Linked DNA regions of Homo sapiens: region 2 is linked to region 1. The links are contacts of gene promoters, found by promoter capture Hi-C in human tissues and cell types (Jung and others, 2019). All regions are on one chromosome and are shown on one strand. Each heading gives the region's core, a stretch centred on a gene start or on the middle of the fragment in contact. The rest is flanking DNA. Distances are from core to core; before and after follow the strand shown. Region 1 holds the start of OR5L2 (olfactory receptor family 5 subfamily L member 2). Region 2 has its middle 9.9 kb from the start of OR5D3.

What was found. Contacts are between HindIII fragments. The study calls those that stand out against the background at their distance.
Region 2: a fragment that was not itself captured here is called in contact with the fragment with the promoter of OR5L2 in region 1 in 3 of the 25 tissues and cell types used here (adrenal gland, aorta and pancreas).

The regions. Positions count from the first base shown.
Region 1 is chr11:55,824,195-55,830,416 of GRCh38, forward strand. It overlaps OR5L2 (olfactory receptor family 5 subfamily L member 2), which reads left to right and starts at 3,025. Exons shown (of 1, transcript NM_001004739.1): 1 at 3,025-3,960. The coding sequence starts at 3,025. The coding sequence ends at 3,960. The HindIII fragment of the contact is 3,304 bases long and covers 1,204-4,507 here.
Region 2 is chr11:55,730,598-55,736,819 of GRCh38, forward strand. No RefSeq gene overlaps it. Among named protein-coding and RNA genes, the nearest start is that of OR5D3, 9.9 kb to the left of the region's middle. The HindIII fragment of the contact is 4,292 bases long and covers 1,320-5,611 here.

The sequences.
Region 1 (6,222 bases), core at 1,775-4,274:
GGTGAGTTACACCTGCTGTGCCTCTATAACCTTATTTTGAAAGGGGAAATAACAGTACTAATGTCAACCAGTTTTATGAAGATAAAATGTGTTCATAATTGTATTTAGAATAGTATCTGGTACATGAGCAGTACTCAGTAAATTATTAGTATTAGTATCAGCAATTATTAGTATTCTTAGTAAAAGGGACTCCTTATCCCCACCCCTTTCTGGTATTTGGAGGATCTCTGGTGTGGTTTCAGACTCTATGCCCTTTAGGTAGGAGCTTTTGAGTGTGAAACAAATTTTATAATGCCTATTTATATAATTTCATAACATGAAATGGCAATGTGAGTACTGGCTCACAGAGGCAATGCTTGGATGTGGCATACAATGTTATGCAATTTACATGAAGTCTGAATGTAATTGTGTTACATTATAATAATATGTACCAAGTTGGATTTTTTCTCACCCTGTTTATATTCCATAGTGGTCAATAATTGTTGGAGTCCCAGGATAGGATGGTTTCCTTGATACCCATTTGATATCCCACAGAGATCAGTGATTGTTTTGGGAAGCTTATGAAACATGGGCCCCAGGGACACACACACACACACACACACACACACACACACACACACAAAATACAAAACACATAATATTTTTCATCATAGCATCTTCAGAAAGGAAAAGCAATGTCTTTCCAATAGGATGGTTGGTTGAACTACATTTTGTATTTTTTGGAATGAGCATAAACTATATTTTCTGGGGGCTGGAAGCCTGATGTGTTTTCCTCATGGAGGTAGCTTATTATAGTCATACACTCCAGAAGGGGAATTCAAAAGGATGGTAATGGTATTAGATAATTTTTAAGTCTGTGTTTTATCCCTCTCTTAATCAGATAATGTTTTTTTAAATGCCATGGTTTGAGCACTCCTTGATGACAATATTTTTCTCATTGTGTATTAGGGGACAATTTTGGTGGGAAGTGGGAACTATTTAATCTGTAAAACCAAACATCTTATAACAGCTATTAGTGTGAGATGTAAAGCAGTGTGAAGACATTGGCATAAGCACTTGTTTTCTCTATCCTTCCCTCTCTCCCCTCTATTACACTAACTCTGTCCATGCGACTTGGTTAAGACTGCATGGAGATTTTCCTAACAGTCATCCTAGTGCTGAGGGTGGCAGTAGGAGGCCCACGGGACTGTTCATGGAGGGACATGGACATGAGAACCACCTCTGAAGCAGAAAGAAGAGGAATTATTTTGTCTTTGTGCAAATCACTTTGAAATGTCTCTCTATGGCAGGTTTCTCAAATAAGGCACCATTAAAATGTTGGTCCAGATAATGTTTTGTTGTGTGTGCTGTGGGCAGGGACCTTCATGTGCTTTGTAGAGGTCATTGGAGAGTGTTTGGCAGCGTCCCCTCTACATGTCAATAGCACCCCCTTCCTCTTGTAACAACCAAAAATGTCTCCAGACATTGACAAATATTCCACTGGGATTCAAGTCACTCCTGACAAAGAAACACTGCTCTATGGGCAATTAACAGCTTGATTTTTTTCTTTATATTTGAAAACAGGAAGGGGTTTTTGAAAGTATGTACTAGTTTGATCTTGGGGAAGGACATGTAACATACTTCTCCTGGTCATTTTAAGAGAGAAAATCTTATCTTCAGAACATTTTAGTAATTTTCAATCTAGCATTTAGTTATATGCCTCCTGTATATCTTTGAAATCAGTTGAAGAATGGGAAAAATACCTGGCTCTGTTGGTCTCCAGTCCAGATTCTTTTCTGCCCAGAGTGCTCAGCTCGTGCCTCTACAATGATGTGTGCATCTATCAAGGGTCAGGGAGAGAGAATAGGAAGCTTCTCACCCTCACTTTACACTTGCTGTGTGTTGAAGATTTGGAAAGTATGTGTCCCTAATTTTAAAAATTCCATCCTTTTCCCCCATTCCACTCCATCATAATGATGTTTTGTGAGGAATCAGGTAAGTTTATCTATTTTTTTGAAATAAATATTTATGCTCATTGATGTTGCACAGATTAAATATATGATGCAGCTTATGTGTGTGAGTAGAATAAATACATATATTTATATTATACATTATTATATAACATTCTTTATGTTCAATCTGACTGTATTATAACTTTCCATTTTATCATTTATCGCAGTCTTATCCTTTTTATAACTGCAAGCATTTCCATTATATATACTACATTTGTGACCACGTCTCTTATTTTATATTTTATTTCTAACTTTTAATATTACAAATAATAGTTCAATGCAGTAGTGGGTGTTTTTCTTAATCATTTTCTATGCACATCTTTGATCAATTCTTCAAATAGATTGAAAGCAGTAAATTTATTTAACAAATAAATGTTTTAGGACTGAACAGTCATAGTTACAATAAGTTGTGCTCAAGAGTACCAATTCCCTGAACCATGGCCAACATTGAAGAGTGTAATTAACCAAATCACCAGGCTAATTTTATAGAAAAAAAGATAATACACACAATAAAATGAGCTTCTTCATCTAAAATATATCAATAAAATATAAACACTTGTGAATTAACATCTTAATTAAGTATATCTCCCCATCACTGTAGTGGAAAATTCAGAGAGGGGTACCATATATTCTAAGCATTATTTTCTAGGATCTCAATATTTGGAGTAAGCTAGGAAAAGGGGATTTGATTTTGATATAATCATAAGGCAAATTAAACAACTTTACCTCTTTCCTAATGATTCTGTGCCAATGTCTCAACTGAGAAAGATTAATTAAAAGAATTCTATAAGTTTTTTAAATGCCAATGTTTTTGTTTGATCTTTGAATTAAACTGTATGTTTTATGCATTTGTATTATACAATGTTGAACTTTTTCAGATTTCCCAAAATTTCTGTTCTTTGCTGATAAAAATTAGCTATCCTACTTCTTCTGATATCTTTTTACAGGATACACCCAAAACTAAAATTTAGACTATATAATGGAGAATAAGTTTTAGGTTTTTTTCTCCTCTAATCCTGCATAAATTGGAGACATGGGCAAGGAAAACTGCACCACTGTGGCTGAGTTCATTCTCCTTGGACTATCAGATGTCCCTGAGTTGAGAGTCTGCCTCTTCCTGCTGTTCCTTCTCATCTATGGAGTCACGTTGTTAGCCAATCTGGGCATGACTGCACTGATTCAGGTCAGCTCTCGGCTCCACACCCCCGTGTACTTTTTCCTCAGCCACTTGTCCTTTGTAGATTTCTGCTACTCCTCAATAATTGTGCCAAAGATGTTGGCTAATATCTTTAACAAGGACAAAGCCATCTCCTTCCTAGGGTGCATGGTGCAATTCTACTTGTTTTGCACATGTGGAGTCACTGAGGTCTTCCTGCTGGCCGTGATGGCCTATGACCGCTTTGTGGCCATCTGTAACCCCCTGCTGTACATGGTGACCATGTCTCAGAAGCTGCGTGTGGAGCTGACCTCTTGCTGCTACTTCTGTGGGACGGTGTGTTCTCTGATTCACTCGTCCTTAGCTCTTAGGATCCTCTTCTATAGATCTAATGTGATTAACCACTTCTTCTGTGATCTACCCCCTCTCCTAAGTCTTGCTTGCTCTGATGTCACTGTGAATGAGACACTGCTGTTCCTGGTGGCCACTTTGAATGAGAGTGTTACCATCATGATCATCCTCACCTCCTACCTGCTAATTCTCACCACTATCCTGAAGATACACTCTGCAGAGAGCAGGCACAAAGCTTTCTCCACCTGTGCCTCCCACCTCACAGCCATCACTGTCTCCCATGGAACAATCCTTTACATTTATTGCAGGCCGAGTTCAGGCAACAGTGGAGATGTTGACAAAGTGGCCACCGTGTTCTACACAGTTGTGATTCCCATGCTGAACCCCCTGATCTACAGCCTGAGAAATAAGGATGTGAACAAAGCTCTCAGAAAAGTGATGGGCTCCAAAATTCACTCCTAGGGAAGATTTTATTCACAGAATTCAGGATCCCCAAGTTGTGGCAAGTGAAGGTTCGTAGGAGGGGTGCAGTGTTGGAGTAGAGAGAAGAAGGAGCTCAGTAGTTATGAGGGATCCTTTTTTGATTCACTTATCTTTGTTTCTCTTAAATTTAAACTAATAGGATTGAACATATTTCAAAATTTGCAGCCAACTTTTATAAAAATAAATTTGTGATGTTTTAAATGGATATGAGCCACAACATTATTAAGATACAAACATTTAGTTTTCTGTAAAACCTTCACAAATCTAGTGAAGAACTCAGAGGAGTTACACTTTATTTCAGTATCCATTTATGGAAACTATGATTCTTTTACAAATAAAATTTCCATTATTTATAATGACGATTACACCATCGTCAAAGTGTGTACAGAATGAGAATTCCATATATCTATGCATATATATGTGTTTGTCATTGTTTGATTTTTTATGTTTCTTGTTTTATTCTTCATTATTTTGTTTCTGCTGTTGCAGTGTACAATGTCATTGAAATTTTGGGTACTATGTGATTTGATAGATGACGAAAATAATAATTGCAGCGGACTCTAGGGAAATTGCATTAAGGAAGCTGGAATCACATAAAAAGAGCTTAGAATAATCCCTGGAACATAATTATTAGTTGTCTCTCTCTCTACCTACATTACGCACACACACACACACACACACACACACACACACACATATATAATATAAATATGTACAGATAATAATTTAGAACCATTGTTATGAATCACAGCATTTCTGAATTAACCCTCTTCTCTCACTTTATCTTTACTGCTTATCTTCATACTAACCCTAAAATCTATTGATGAAGAGATGCTTACTGACACTTATGACTTTTAACCTCTGCTCATGTTCTTTGCATGTGTTCTTTTTTTTTTGGCTTAACTTTCTTTTATTGTATTCTTTCCATATGTACCTAAACCACATTTCTTAATTCCCTGTTGAATTATATGCACCATTAATGCTTTATTTGTGATTCCATTACGACTTATGTCAATTTCCTCATTTTATTTACTTGTTTAAATTAAACTTCTCTCTTTGTGTCTGTAATAATATTAGAAAAGCAATAGGTTTGAGTTTTTCAAAACCGAGATTGGTGTTTTGACCCTGGTTTTTTAATTTGTCAAGTAATTTAACTTATTTGGTCCTCAGTTTCCTTTGTTTTAGCATTGGATAATAGTTTTAACCTCATGGAATTTTATTGAGATTAAAATTTCATAGCATATGTGTACTTACTGACATCAGGAAGAGACTCAGTGTATATCTAAATGAAGTCATTGAAGCTTGGGGTTTATTTAACTTTTTATCTACTTCATCATCAGTGGCATATGAGAAGTTTTTAAAAAATCTTTTATTTTTATGAAATGCATGGATGAGTAGATATTGGTGAATTTATGGTAAGCATATTGGGATTACTATGCAGATTACATTTCGAGAGACTTCAAGAACTGTGAGTTGGTCCACATTGTCACGAATGTTCTAGCAGTCATGGTCTACTTAGGAAAACAAATGCTCTGCAGGATCTAATTCATGAAATGTTAGCGATTAGAGGCTCAAAAGAGCACACAGGAGATGCTGTATTATTTAAAGATTGTTGACTTTAGGAAGTAACTATTGCTCTTGATATTAGAGGGCAATAGGGAAGAAACATTGTCCCCAGAACCTCAGAGCTTCGTGGAAGCAGCTCAGTCCGCCGGTGTTAATCCCTTGAGGAAGAGACATAACGCTTAGTGTGTCAGGGCCTCTGAGGCTGGGTTAGGACTCAGCAGATTTCCAGTGTCCTGTGGCACGCTCAGACATGGTCCAAAGAAGGCTGTGCTAGATGGCTGCTCCTGCCTCTGAAGAGGTTATCATGGAAAGCTGGAACACACCAAGTATCCACTGTGGCTAGATTCACACTAAGAGAAACTGGAAAATCAAGAAGAGATGTTCTTCTTCTCTCTTTTCCATTTCCTTCTCATCTTCCCTTCTCCCCCTCCTCCCCTTACCCCCTTACTTCCTCTGGCGGATCTAAAAGGAAGGCAGCTAGATAGGACATCTGGGGAATACAGTTTGCAAGCCCCAGCAGCAAGATCACAGCATAAGGACTAGGAGAGTGGACATGAAAATGAGACTAGGTTCAACAAACACAGCTTCTGAGGGACTTGCGGTGTACAATGCACAGGGTACAAGGAAAACCCTCTTCTCCTATTACCTAGAGTGTGTACATCTTTCTGTATCTGA
Region 2 (6,222 bases), core at 2,216-4,715, 93 kb before region 1:
TAGGCTACTGATTGATTTAGTTGTTAATCTCATCCAAAAACACCCTTATAAAAACATCCATAATAATGTTTGACTGAATATCTGGGCACCCTGTGGCCCAGTTAATTGATGCATACAATTAACTTTTATGCACTTGTTCATAATAAAACAAAACAGAAGAAAACAAAAGCTCCCAGAAAAATAGAAATAGAAATGTCTTAATCTTTTACCTACCAAATCTGTAGGTAAATATCACAATTAAGGTTAAAATAATCGGCTAGGTGCAGTGGCTCCTGCCTGTAATCCCAGCAATTTGGGAGGCCGAGGTGGGCGGATCACAAAGTCGGGAGATTGAGACCATCCTGGCCAACATGGCAAAACTCCGTCTCTACTAAAAATACAAAAATTAGCTGGGCGTGGTGGTGTGTGCTTGTGATACCAGCTGCTCAGGAGGCTGAAGCAGGAGAATGGCTTGAACCAGGGAGTTGGAGGTTTCAGTGAGCCGAGATCGCACCACTGCACTCCAGCCTGGAGACAGAGTGAGACTCTGTCTCAAAAAAAAGCAAAACAAAATGAAAAAACAACAAAAAAGAGAAAAGAAATAATAGAAGCTTTGTTTTAAATTTCAACTCAAGAGAAGAATGTTCATTATTTCCACTTCTGTGGAAAGGTTGTTCTAGACAATTGAGTAAGACAGGAAAAAAAGAACATTAGTGAAGACAGAATAACACTTTCATGTTTTAAGATAATATAATTGTATGAACATCCAAATCCAAAAAGATCTATCAAAACCAATTAGAGTTAGTAAGGGAATGTAAAAGATCTCTCAATGTAAGATAATTAACATTTTTTTTCCTAGATCTGTGATATCTGTCTACATCCTTCCACATTGTATTAATCCCAGCATCCCTCAGCTTTAGAGATAGTAGTTCTTTTCTGCAGTAACCACTACTGTGGTATATTAAGGTTTTGTGGGGTTTTTGCCTTTTCATCAATTGTTTAACAATTGTAAAAATAATTTTTCTGTACTAAATGTTATGTTTTGAAATCCCTAGAAAAGATTGTGTTTTTCTCGAATAGACTCAGACTCTTGGTAATAATGTTCTCTGAACTAGACCTTCAAATATGGGTATCTAATCATACACTTGGCCGTGAAGACAGGGCTAAGCATCTTTAAAATAGAAATTGTATTCAGTAATCCATGGTGTATAGTAACGTGGCTAACTAAATAATCCTTTGTGCATGATTATAATGAAGTGCTCACTGAATCAAATGCCTGGAGGACTGAGGTGGGGGTTTCACAAAACTGTCATGGAAGTGGTGGTGATTACAAGAACTGGGATCTTCTGAATGCCTGGGAGAGCTTGCAAAAAGATAATAAAAATTCAGGGCATCCAAATGTTGGCATAATTTACTGTCAGAGAACTAGAGATATTTAAGACACTGGGCAAGTGTCCTCAATTTCTTAGTGAGAAACTGATGTGTCAGAGATGATGTCTTAAATAAATCCTATAAAAATACAAGTATTCTTAACATCAGAAAAGAATTCTTTTGATCTTGTGTTCTGCAGAATGTTGAGATATCCTCTCCAAAGCAAATGACAACTTAGGGCAATTTGTACTGCAATTAAGTGATTTAAAATGTACTGCGTCTTTCAGTTATGGAGGCAACACATATCACACTTGAGTAAGCTGTCGCAAACCATTCAAAAAGTAACCTTCAGCTTGCCTCTCTTGCATAATTCCTTACCAGACACTCTTATTGTCCCACCTCTATCTTTTGAATTTTACTCCCAGTGATTGTGGTAGTCAGCCATACATGGAACCCCCAATGATCCCATTCTCTGGTATTCACATCATTGTGGAGTCTCCTCCCATACTTTACCTGGCTTGGTCTGTGTGATGAATAGCATGTGGTAGGAATGAGAATACATAATACTTGAGGTTCAGTCTTAACAGTCTGGATTCTCTCTCTCTGTCTTTTTCCACCTACATTAGGTCTCTCATTCGGGAGGAAGTGGCCATATTTGAATAACCCTGTGAAGGGACCTTTGGGATGAGGAACCTAAGCTTCTGGCCAACAGCCTTCAAGGAACAAGAGGTGCCAGCAACCTTGTGAGTGAGCTTGGATGCAGAAGTTTGACATTGTTTAAGCCTTGAGATTACTGTAGCTCTGGAAGGCTGGTTGCAACCTCATGGGAGACTCTAAACTTGGAGCTAAGCTGCTCCTGGATTTCTGATGCATAGAAACCATGAGGTAATCAGTGTTTATTGTTTCAAACTGCGAAGTTTTGGGGATACTTTTTAGCTGTCAATGAATAATTAATGCAACTGTATTAGTCAGTTCTCACACTTCTATCAAGAACTACCTTGAGACTTGGTGATTTATGAAGAAAAGAGGTTTAATTGACATACAGTTCACAGGGTGTACAGGAGGCAGGTCTAAGGAGGCCTCAGGAAACTTTCAATCATGGCAGAAAGGTGAAGAGGAAGCAGGAATGTCTTCTCATGGCTGGCAGGAGAGACAGAGTAAAAGGGGAAGTGTACACACTTTAAACCACCAGATTTTCTGAGAACTCATTTACCATCAGGAGAACAGCAAGGGGGAAGTCCGCCTCTGTGAATCACCTACCAGGTCCCTCCTGCAACACTGAGGATCACAATCGACATGAGAGTTGGGTGGGGACGCAGAGTCAAACTATATCAGTGGATTTTTGGTGCCTGGGAATATATTGTTGCCAAATAAAAACCCAAGATGTTAAGGTGGCTTTGGAAATGAGCAGTCAGTTTTGAACAAAATATCATTGAAATCTTAATATGTTTTGGAGGTCTTTGATAAGATTACAGTTTAGAGATTCCAGGTGAGTGAGAAAAATATTATTGGAAGTTGTAGAAAGGAATATTCTTGTTATGTAGGGCAGATGTTTAGTAATGCTATTGCCTATAGTAATTTGAAAAGTACAAAATGTGCCTAATATTCTGGGTTATCTAACAACAGATATTTTCTAAGTGAAATGTTTAAAGTTCTACCTGGTTTCTCCTTGAAGATTAGAGTAAGGCATTAGAGGCAAGAAACAAACTAAATTATTAATGTTGAAAGATCCAGGATTTGATGGCTATGAAATCTCTTAGCCTCCCATAATGGGAAAAGTTGGCAAAATTAAGAAATGGTTTCCAAGGATGATCAAATCCATGGCATTGCTGTGAAAACATGATTTAAAGATGAAGTCTAGGATTTGACTATAAAATCTTAAAAAAAAATAGAAAAACCTCAGAAAGATCTAAAGTGGTATCTCAGAGTATATTCACACAAAAGACTCTCAAAAGAGATTAAAAGTGCTCCACCTCCTCTATCAACAACAAGGCTTTTAGGAACCTTAAGTGTGCCATCTCTGAGCCATCTCATAGAAGCCCAAGGTAGGGAAAGACTTATATCTAAAAGACTTAAGGATGTGTTTTTATCTCTAATATAGTGGAATTCAATAAGATTCATAGAAGATCCACAAAGTTCATTTATGTATATATGTGTACATGTATACACACACACACACATATATACACAAACACACACAGAGAGAGAGAGAGAGAGATCACTACCTTAAATTGAAAGACACAGTGACTGAAAAAAATTGAAAGGGGCCTATGAGTTATCAAAATTCTATTAGAAGAAAACAAGCTAAGAAACCTGCTAAGTTGCAAATATGTCCCACATTTCATGAGAAGAAAGGATGATTCAGACCGTGGTACCAAAAGTCCAGAGGTGAGAGCTAAGGAACCGAGACTAATTAGGCTAATTATTCCCAGATTTTGCAATTTAACCAAAGAAATTTCTAAATTTCCCTGGCTGGACTTCAGAATTCCAATGGATGAGTAATTCCTTTGCATATGTTGAACCAGAATGTTTATAGCAATATCTCTTACCAGTACCAACATTGTATGCTAGGTTTATAGAGTAACCGTTACTTGTCTCCTTAGTTTCATAGGTTGAGAGAAACTGGACTTGAGAACCTCTAATTAAGACAATACATCCATGGAGCTTCCTTTATATTTGGTCCTGATGGTGATTACATATTGTCAACTTTAACAAAATGCTGTGGTGGAATAAGGCATTTGGGCCCTTGGGAAGATTTGAGTGTTTTTTTTATGTGGCGAAGGGACAAGAGTCATTGTAGATCAGAAGGCATCATGTAGCATCCCCAAAATGGCACCCAATAATTTCTACTTTCTTGTAATGATCCATTTGTTTGAAAGGTCCCCAAGATCTGTTTTAATCAGGTATGGTAAAATATAGAGACATTGACATGATTGTGTTAAAAGAAAAATTTTATTATACTTACAGATCCCTAGAAAGAGGAGGCATGACATGTTCCACAGGGCTACACAAACAAGCACCAGGGTTGGTCCAGAAGTGGAAGGAGTGAGGGGAAATATGACAAGAATTTTTTTTTTGAGATGGAGTCTTGCTCTGTTCCCAGGCTGGAGTGCAACGGCACAATCTCAGCTCACTGCAATCTCTGCCTCCCAGGTTCAAGCGATTCTCCTGCCTCAGCCTCCAGAGTAGCTGGGATTACAGGTGCTTGCCACCACGCTAGGCTAATTTTGTGTATTTGTAGTAGAGTTGGGGTTTCACCATGTTGGCCATGCTGGTCTCAAACTTCTGACTCCAAGTGATCAGCCCACCTGGGCCTCCCAAAATTCTGGGATTACAGGCGTGAGCCACCGCGCCCGGTGAAATATGAGCAGGGATCTTTACAAAGGAACTGCTGAACGGACTTGCAATTGGCTAGCTTGAATAATTTCAGCAGGCCCTTGTGTCTAGAGGCTTTCCCTAGGTGTCTAGTGCCTGGCCCTAGGGATGATTTAGGAAGGAGGATAATGGCCCAGAGCATGAGTGCCTGGTAGAGGAGGTGACCTGAGCAGTGGTTGTGGATTTGTTAGTTTGCAACTCTAGGGTGAGTTGTTTATCGTCTCTAAGAATTGGCAGACCATGGGTGGGCCCATCCCTCCAGGGTTCACAAGGCCCAAGATGTCAAAGCATCAGAATATAGAACATAAAATACACGGTTAGTACCCTTGTGTAGTCCCCTCCTAGATTGGGTAACCAATAGCATACTGCAAAAGTGCCAGTGTGTCAATGGGAGATTGGCTCACAAAGGTCTCCAGCTTGTGTGTTCTCTTGAATCCCTCATCTGGAATAAGCAAATAGCCATGCTTTGATCTGCCCTTTTGAGAAGCATGGGAAGGAACCGAAGCTTCTGGTGAATAGCCAGTGAGGAACTGCCAATAATCATGGAAGTGAGTATAAAGGTGGAATCTCCAACCTTATTGAGCCATAAGTTTACCACAGTTCTGAAGAGACTTTCAGCCAGAACCACCCACCTCACCTGCTTCTGAATTCCTGATCTTCATAAATTATGGAAGAAAATAAATATTAGTTAAATAACTAAAATACTGTCCAATCTCTTACTGTCCAAATCATCATTGTTTTGCCTAAGGAATTTTTCTGAAGCTCAGTAGTTAGATCATCGCAAAGGTGAGGCAAGTGAGATGTTTGAGGCAATGAATCCAAACAAACAGATCTCATTCAATGAGTGATAAAAGTTGATGTAAAAGATGCCAGTGAGGGCCAGGTGTGGTGGCTCATGCCTGTAATCTCAGCACTTTGGGAGGCCAAGAGGTGGGCAGATTACGAGGTCAGGATATCAAGACCATCCTGGTTAACACAGTGAAACCCCGTCTCTACTAAAATACAAAAAATTAGCCGGGCTTGGTGGCATGCACCTGTAATCCCAGCTACTCGGAAGGCTGAGGCAGGAGAATCGCTTGAACCCTGGAGGCGGATGTTGCAGTGAGCCGAGATTGTGCCACCTCACTCCAGCCTGGGCGACAGAGTGAGGCTCTATCTAAAAAAAAAAAAAAAAAAAAAAAAAAAAAATTCCAGTGTGATCTATTCTTGATGAGTGATTATTAGCTATATTCTGTACTATTTTCCAGACTATTCTCATGAGACTAAGCTTCATTGTCCTGTAGTTGTAGCTGACTTGTCAGTGCATCTTATTTGGTTGTCTTTTCTTTCCTGTTTCACTTACACATCTACTATTAATTAGTTTTACTTATTAAATAAATTACCATATTAAATAAATTACTTATTAAATAAATTATCTGAGCATGACTGCTTGTATCTAATCTGCTTTGGGGAAAATAAAAAAAAAAAACACACACACACACAATTTTAGTTCAAAAG